Linked DNA regions of Homo sapiens: region 2 is linked to region 1. Evidence: promoter capture Hi-C in 16 types of primary human blood cells and fetal thymus (Javierre and others, 2016). All regions are on one chromosome and are shown on one strand. Each heading gives the region's core, a stretch centred on a gene start or on the middle of the fragment in contact. The rest is flanking DNA. Distances are from core to core; before and after follow the strand shown.

Region 1 (3,843 bases), core at 17-2,516:
TGCCCCCCAACAAAGCCCAGTAGTTCTCCCTCATTCATGGCCCAGTGGGATCAATGTTCCTCATTCAAGGGTATTCCCACTCCCCTCAAGATCTCCCCAGTCATGATCCATTGGGAATGGCCCTACACCCTTCAGGGTAGGCCTCTACAAGGCCTTGGGTAGGCCAGTTGGATGACTCTTACTCACTTAGAATCCCTTTCAGATGACAGTGGTCTTCCCCATTCATGGGTTAATCAACTCGCCCTTCCATTCTCAGTGTCCCTCACACAGGGACAGCTGGTTTCCCTCATTCAAGGACCAATTGGATTACCTGTCCTCCCTCAGAGTTCCTCCCCTCCCCATGCAGGACCCTGTTCAGACCCCCCCCCCAGTGAGGAACCCTCTCAACAAGGGCCCATTCATAGTGCAATGCTATGGCCTTTCATTGCATCTCAGAGTCCCCCCAAAAGAATCAAGTGGGGGTACCTCCCCAAAGCCCAGTGATCTTCCCTCCTTGTAGTCCAAGGTATCAATCTTTTACCCCTCTGGTCCTCCCCCCAGTTAATGGGATTAATGGTATTACCCATTCATGGCCTTCTTCACCCCAGGCCTAATGGGATCACCCTTAATCATCCAATGGTGCCGCCCCCTCTTAGGATGCACTACCAACCACCAATGGCACAGGATCTCCACCTCCCAGGAACAATGACAACATCTGGGGTCTTTCCCCAATCCCCGGGCACAGTGGTATCTCCCCCAAAACTTACCACCTCCCACCCGCTAATGGTTCTGCCCTCTCAAGGGCTCCCACCACCATGACGCAAACGACCCAACACCCGCTTCCTTCCTCTCCAGACAAAATGGTTTCGCCTTCTCAGGATCTCCTTCCCTCAAAGCCCATTATCATCACCCGCCGACGGTGTCCCCTGCACGGGCCCAAAAGTCTCGTCCCCTCCAGGTCTGAGTAAGGTACCGCCTACTTAATGGCGCTCTCCCAGCCCACAATGCTAACAGAGTCCAACCTTCAAAGCCGCAGAGTATCTCGGAATCCAATAGTCTCACCACTCCGAGCCTCAGTTTCCCTTCTCCAGACCCACCCCATAAACTCAGGGTCCATCCCAACCAACCCCTTCTCAGAGCTGATAGCACGACCTCTCGCTACCCCGCCCCCGGTCGCCTAGCCGGGTGGTCTTTCCCACCGCGAGCGGCACCTGCATCCGCTGAAACTCCTCCTCAGACAGAGCTTGCGCCATGTTCCTCCCCCCACCCCCCCGCCAGCTTTCTGCGCAGACGCAGCTCGCGCCTCCTGGCAGTATTAAGGTCGGACCAAACCACTGGCCAGGAATGGAGGGGGTAGAACCTAATTCCGAAGGGCAGCATTTTGGAGACGCAGAGAAGAGAACGAAACCGACGAGTCAGGTGAACTGTAATACAACGTTCTACCCGAATGTAAGTCATCTGATTGGCTTTTGGACTCTTCTAGGCCACCCATTGTGATACGACATTATTACATCCCCGTTTCATGGGTGGACTCGTCGCTAGGGAAGTCTTTGCCGACAGAAAATCACCCTTCCGCGGTATTCCTTTAATGAGAATGGGTAACTTAATAACCATAGAAATGAAAGCGGAAGCTTCGCTCTGGTCTTGTTCCCGCCCCTCCTCCGGGAGACCCCAAAGGGGAATCCCACCTCTTGTAAAGCCTTTGGCCTTTTTTTTTTTTTTTTTTTTTAAGGTTTGACACTTATTTTGTTATCATGATACTGCATGTCACGTTAGGTAAAGGACTTAGCCACCAATAAAAATAGCAGAGTGGAAAGAGTGACAGTGAATCAAACGAAAAAGCTACATTAAAACAAAACAAAAACAAAAAACAAACCAGGGTGGTGAAACACCAGGCTCATTCAAGTATTAGAATTCACTATAACCCTCACCGATCTGAGAGTAAGAAATGGTATCTCAGTGTAGTTTTTTTCTTATTTTCTTTTTTCTTTCTGTTTTTGTTGTTGTTGTTGTTGTTGTTTTTCTTTTTTGAGACGGAGTTTCACTTTTGTTGCCCAGGCTGGAGTGCAGTGGCACGATATCCGATCACAGCAACCTCCGCTTGGCGAGTTCAAGCGATTCTCCTGCCTCAGCCTCCCGAGTAGCTGGGATTACAGGCGCCCGCCACCTCGTCCGGGTAATTTTTTTTTTTTTTTTTAGTAGAGACGGGGTTTCTCCATATTGGTCAGGCCGGTCTCGAACTCCCGACCTCAGGTAGTCCGCCCGCCTCGGCCTCCCAGAGTGCTGGGATTAAGGCGTGAGCCACCGCGCCCAGCCTTCTTATTTTCGTAGAATTTAATGATTTCCCTGCTGTGGAAAAATATTTCCAGCAGGGCCGGGCGCGGTGGCTCACGCCTGTAATCCCAGCACTTTGGGAGGCCAAGGAGGGCTGTTCACTTGCGGTCAGGAGTTCGAGACTAACCTGGCCAACATGGTGAAACCCCATCTCTACTAAAAACACAAAAATTGGCCGGGTGTGGTGGTGGGCGCCTGTAATCCCAGCTACTCGGAAGGCTGAGGCACGAGAATCGCTTGAACCCGCCAGGCAGAGGTTGCGGTGAGCCGAGATCGCACCACTACACTCCAGCCTGGGGGATAGAGCGAGACTCTGTCTCCAAGAAAAGAAAGAAAAAGAAAAGTATTGCCAGCCAGGACTCTTTGATTTCTTTCTTGATTTAATTGACTTTATTGAAAGATAACGCTATTGATCTGTCTATATACATAAATGCACCCATTTTAAGGGTACAATTTAGTGAGCTTTGTCTAATGTATACAACCTTGTAACCACCATCACAAGCAAGATAGGGAACATTGATTTCTTTGTATCCTATCCCAAACCCCACCCCCTATCCCAGGTAACCAATGATTGGCTTCCTGTTACTGGATTACATTTCTCTTGCAGAGTTTCATGCAAATAGAATGAGACAGGATGTATCCTTTTCTGTCTGGCTTCTTTCACTCATCATAATCCTTTTGAGATTCATCCAAGTTGTTTCGTGTATAAGTATCTTTTTTTCTTTTTATTGACTAGTAAAATTCCATAGTATGGGCCGGGCGGGCTCAGTGGCTCACGCCTGTAATCCCAGCACTTTGGGAGGCCGAGGCAGGTGTATCACCTGAGGTCAGGAGTGCAAGACCAGCCCAGCCAGCATGGTGAAACCACATCTGTACTAAAAATACAAAAATAAGCTAGGAGTGATGGTACACGCCTGTAATCACAGCTACTCAGGAGGCTGAGGCATGAGAATCGCTTGAACCCAAGAGGTGGAGGGTGCAGTGAGCCGAGATCGTGCCACTGCACTCCAGCCTTAGCGATAGAGGGGAAAACTCTGTCTCAAAAACAAAACAAAACAAAACAAAATCCATAGTATGACTATACCACAATTTGTTTATCCATTCTCTTAGTGTAGTTTTAATTTGTGTTTCTCTTATTATGAGTGAGATTCACCACCTTGTCCTATGTTTATTTTATTTTTAATTTTTATTTATTTGTTTTTTTGAGACGGAGTTTCACTCTTGTTGCCCAGGCTGGAGTGCATTGGCGCGATCTCAGCTCACTGCAACCTCCGCCTCCCAGGTTCAAGCAATTCTCCTGCCTCAGCCTCCCAAGTAGGTGGGATTACAGGCGCCTGCCACCATGCCCGACTAATTTTTGTATTTTTAGTAGAGACAGGGTTTTACCACATTGGTCAGGCTGGTCTTGAACTCCTGACCTCAGGCGATCCACCTGCCTCGGCCTCCCAAAGTGCTGGGATTACAGGCATGAGCCACCGTGCCCGAACTTATTTTATTTCATTTTATTTTATTTTGAGACAGGGTCTTGCT
Region 2 (4,081 bases), core at 1-2,500, 1.5 Mb before region 1:
CTGGAAGCATTAAGGTTGAAGTTTTCTTCTAAAGATCAAAGTTTTGATTTGTTATATTAGTTCGGATTTGTTTGATTTTTGTTTGTGTTCGGTTTCAAGTGCTGATTTGTAACTTTTCTCCCCCCCCCACACACGCCTTTTGACCCCTGAATTATTTAAAAGTCCATTGTTGGAGTGGCAAACATCCTCCGAGACTCAAAGGGCAAGGCCATGGGCGCTTTATTCCGGCTGCTGCTCCAGGAACGTGGGAAAGCAGCGGAGTTTTATTCTAGGGGAAGGAAACAAAGGCGGCCGAGTGCCAGCTGCACGTTTGGTGGGATTTGGTCATCAGGGGTGGACATGCTGCCCAATGGAGCTGTCGGCAGTTTGACCCAGCTTGGTCCGTCGCGTCCTGTTCTAGGAATCGATTATTCAAAGAAGGAATTTAGAGGGACTGCAGAAAATGTTACAGGTCTTAACACCATTTTGCATTTCCGCAAACGAACAAGAAGTTAATCCCTGTGTTAGTGATTTCTAAGCCCATTTGCCTTGTGGCCCAAGAACGTTGAGTTTGAAATTTGATGAAACTTGCCTTAAGGCTCAAGTACGAGGCCAGCTTTCAAAAATGGTTTTGTGCCTTGATTGAAAACACTGTATCTTCTAGTTGTTGGATTTATCGTACTCTGCGGCTCTATTGGTTCAAGCTTGTGCGTTGGGCCTTTTAAAATGTGTGTTTCCTGATAATTCCCTTCAGCTTGTCAACTGGGGGTGATGTGGCAGGGAGAAAGAGAGAGAGGAGAGAGAGAGACTGTACTGGCAGGTTTTCCTTGTGCTATTCAATTTTTGCTTCCTATGTTTTGAAGTTTTATTATTAACTGCAGGTTTCATTACTGAATAGATATAGCCAAATTCCTTCCCCCAAAAGATTATAAAGTTTCCTAGTCCTACCAGCAAAATCATTAAGTTCATTAAGGCAAATCCCCTCCAGCGCTGGATGTTGATGCTGTCTTTAATTTTGTATTTTTCTGACTACTTTGTGCAATTGAGGATTGTTTTGGTCTATTGGCCATTTGGCTTTTCTCTTTTGCAAATGTTCATATCCTTTGTCCAGTTTTCTTTAGGGTGATTTTTCCTTTTCGTATCAATTTGTAAACAGTGTACAAATTACATTGTACATTAGGGATATTAACAGTCTGTCAGTTACACTGTACATTAGGGATATTACATTAGAGATATTAACATCTTTGTCCATTAAGGATATTAACCATCTGTCAGTTACATTGCAGTATTTTTCCCTAAACTCTTTTTGTCTTTTGCATTTTATGTTTTTTTAAATGTGCAATTAGAAAAATTTTATATGGGCTGGGCACAGTAATCCCAGCACCCATCTCTACTAAAAATAAAAAAAAAAATAGCCAGGCGTGGTATCTCAACTAAAAAAAAAAAAAAAAATTGCCGGGCATGGTGTTGGGCGCTTGTAATCCCAGCTACTCGGGAGGTTGAGGCAGGAGAATCGCTTGAACTTGGGAAGTGGAGATTGCAGTGAGCTGAGCTCGGGCCACTGCACTCCAGCCTGGGTGATAGAGCAAGACTTCATCTCAAAAAAAAAAAAGAAAGAAAAATTGTATGTGTAATATGTAACTAGTGAAATGTAGCCTCTGATCAGATATGTCTAAACTTTCTTTTATGGCTTTTGTATATCCCATCTTGCCTAGTTTCACTTCCCTATTCCAGATAGAAAGATAATCTTAACATGTATTTCAGTGTTTTTATTGCTTTAATTTTTTCTACTTTAATCTAGTTGGAATTTACTCTGGTATATGGTATGAAATCAAGATCAAGCTTGAACAAGAAGCCTGTGTCACACTTTTTTCTGTGTCAAATAAAAAGAGACTTTAATTAGAAAGACAGACTATTGCAAAAGGGAGAATGCTCCCATCTCAGAAACCTGAGAGCATCTTGAAACCAAACAGAAAAAGGCTTTTCTTGTAGAGGGTAAGGAGGCAGGCAGAGATAAGCAGAATCTGTGGAAAGGAAGCTGCACAAACAAGGGGGAATGGCCAGTGGGGTCTGCCAGGAAATTGTCCCACAGTGGTGCGCCCATTCCCAGGAGAAGCTGAGAAGCAGGGTCCATTGGGAGGGGAGGAATTTCGACTTTTTTTGATGCTTGCCCAGGCTCGGGGGCAAGCAGAGTTAGGAGCTTGTAGGAAAGAAGCCTGGTTCAAGTTTGGCTAAAGAGCATTTTGTTCCAATTGATCAGTGGAGACAAGCAGTTAGGCTTGTCATCTATGAGGCAAAGAATGGGAATTTGGAGAGTGGGTGTCTGGCCTTCTCATAGGTAAACAGGGGACATCCGTGACTTCTAAGTCATATGGGGAAGGATGGTTCTTTGCAGTAAGCCATTTTCCAGAAAAGCCATTTTCCCTTTGGAGTAAGGGGATTTCTTGACCTGCACTGCTCACCAGGATGAGGTAAAATTCAGTATTGCCAGTTGGCACCATTTATGAAACACACCACCTTGTAACCACTGAATTAAATATTGCTTCTGTCATATAAGTTCACAAATATGCTTAGCTTGACCTGAACTCTATTTTGTGTCTGTAGTCTATTTGATTTCAAGGGATTTTTGTTCTTGCAAATTTATTTTCTAGGAATTCTCTGAAGTTTAAAATCATTTAATCAAAAATGAATGCTACCAACCCGTCCCCCACCCCCCGCAAAAAAAAACAAAAACACAGCAAAACTAAATTGTTGTGACTGGGCGAGGTGGCTCATGCCTATAATCCCAGCATTTTGGGAGCCCAAGGTGGGCAAATAACTTGAGGCCAGCAGTTGGAGACCAGCCTGGCCAACATGGCGAAACCCTGTCTTTACTAAAAAATAAAAAAATTAGCCACCCGTGGTGGCAGGCACCTGTAATCCCAGCTACTTGGGAGGCTGAGGCAGGAGAATTGCTTGAACCCAGGAGGTGGAGGTTGCAATGAGTAGAGATCACGCCACTGCACTCCAGCCTGGGCAACAGAGTGAGACTCTCTCAAAAAAAAAAAAAAAAAGCAAACCCTCAACTATTGCTGGGTGAGGTGGCTCACACCTGTAATCCCAGCACTTTGGGAGGCCCAGGCAGGCAGATCACTTGAGGTCAGGAGTTTAAGACCAGCCTGGCCAACATGGTGAAACCCCATCTCTACTAATAATACAAAAATTGGCACAGTGACGCACGCCTGTAATCCCAGCTACTCGGGAGGCTAAGGCAGGAGAATTGCTTGAACCCGGGAGGCAGAGGTTGCAATGAGCTAAGATCGTGCCACTGCACTCCAGCCTGGGTGACAGAGCAAGACTCTGTCTCAAAAAAAAAAATAAATAAACTATTATGATTTTATTGGAATTATATTTATATGAATATAATAGTTGGGGAGATTTAATGTTTTTATTACATTAAGCCTTTCTTTGTATCTAGGGATTTTATGTGTCTGTTTGATTACGTCTTATATGCTGCAATGATATTTATAATTTTTCTTCTTATAAATCCATCATCTTTTTATCTTTTTTGGTTAAATTTATTTTTTGCATATTTATATTTTTGTTGTCATTAAGACTTATTTTTGCTAGTCCCATCTGGTTACTGCTAGTATAGGAATAACCTATTTTTGTACTTTTCTCTTTTATTTTTATTTTTTGAGATAGGATCTTGCCTTGAAGTTCACTGGCATGATCACAGCTCACTGTAGCCTTAACCTTCCAGGCTCAAATGATCCTCCTTCCTCAGCCTCCCAAGTAGCTGGGACTACAGGTGTGCACTACCAGACCCAGCTAATTTTTAAATTTTTCCGTAGAGATAGGTTCTCCCTATGTTGCCCAGGCTGGTGTCAAACTCCTGGACTCAAGTGATCCTCCCACCTCAGCCTCCCTAATGGCTGGGACTACAGGTGATAATTTTATCTTGTATCCAACTCCTTATCAAAACTATCTACCTATTCTGGTAGCTTCTTATTACAGTTTTTTCCTAGGTTTTCTAATTGTACAGTTGTATCAGATATAGATAATATTTCCTATCTGACATTTGATATATTTCTTCTTTTTTCACTGTATTAGCTGTCTAATA

Evidence for each region. The method cuts DNA at HindIII sites, captures the fragments that hold promoters and counts their contacts. A CHiCAGO score of 5 or more calls a contact.
Region 2: a fragment that was not itself captured here is called in contact with the fragment with the promoter of GRIPAP1 in region 1 in 1 of 17 cell types (activated CD4 T cells); the score reaches 5.0 in activated CD4 T cells.

What each region holds. Positions count from the first base shown.
Region 1 is chrX:49,000,998-49,004,840 of GRCh38, forward strand. It overlaps GRIPAP1 (GRIP1 associated protein 1), which reads right to left and starts at 1,267. Exons shown (of 26, transcript NM_020137.5): 1 at 1,191-1,267. The coding sequence starts at 1,232. RefSeq lists an enhancer at 1,276-1,385 and a cis regulatory region at 2,658-3,158. The HindIII fragment of the contact is 9,873 bases long and covers 1-1,608 here.
Region 2 is chrX:47,483,395-47,487,475 of GRCh38, forward strand. LINC01560 (long intergenic non-protein coding RNA 1560) reads left to right here. Exons shown (of 1, transcript NR_126059.1): 1 at 1-1,833. Among named protein-coding and RNA genes, the nearest start is that of ZNF41, 2.2 kb to the left of the region's middle. The HindIII fragment of the contact is 1,138 bases long and covers 682-1,819 here.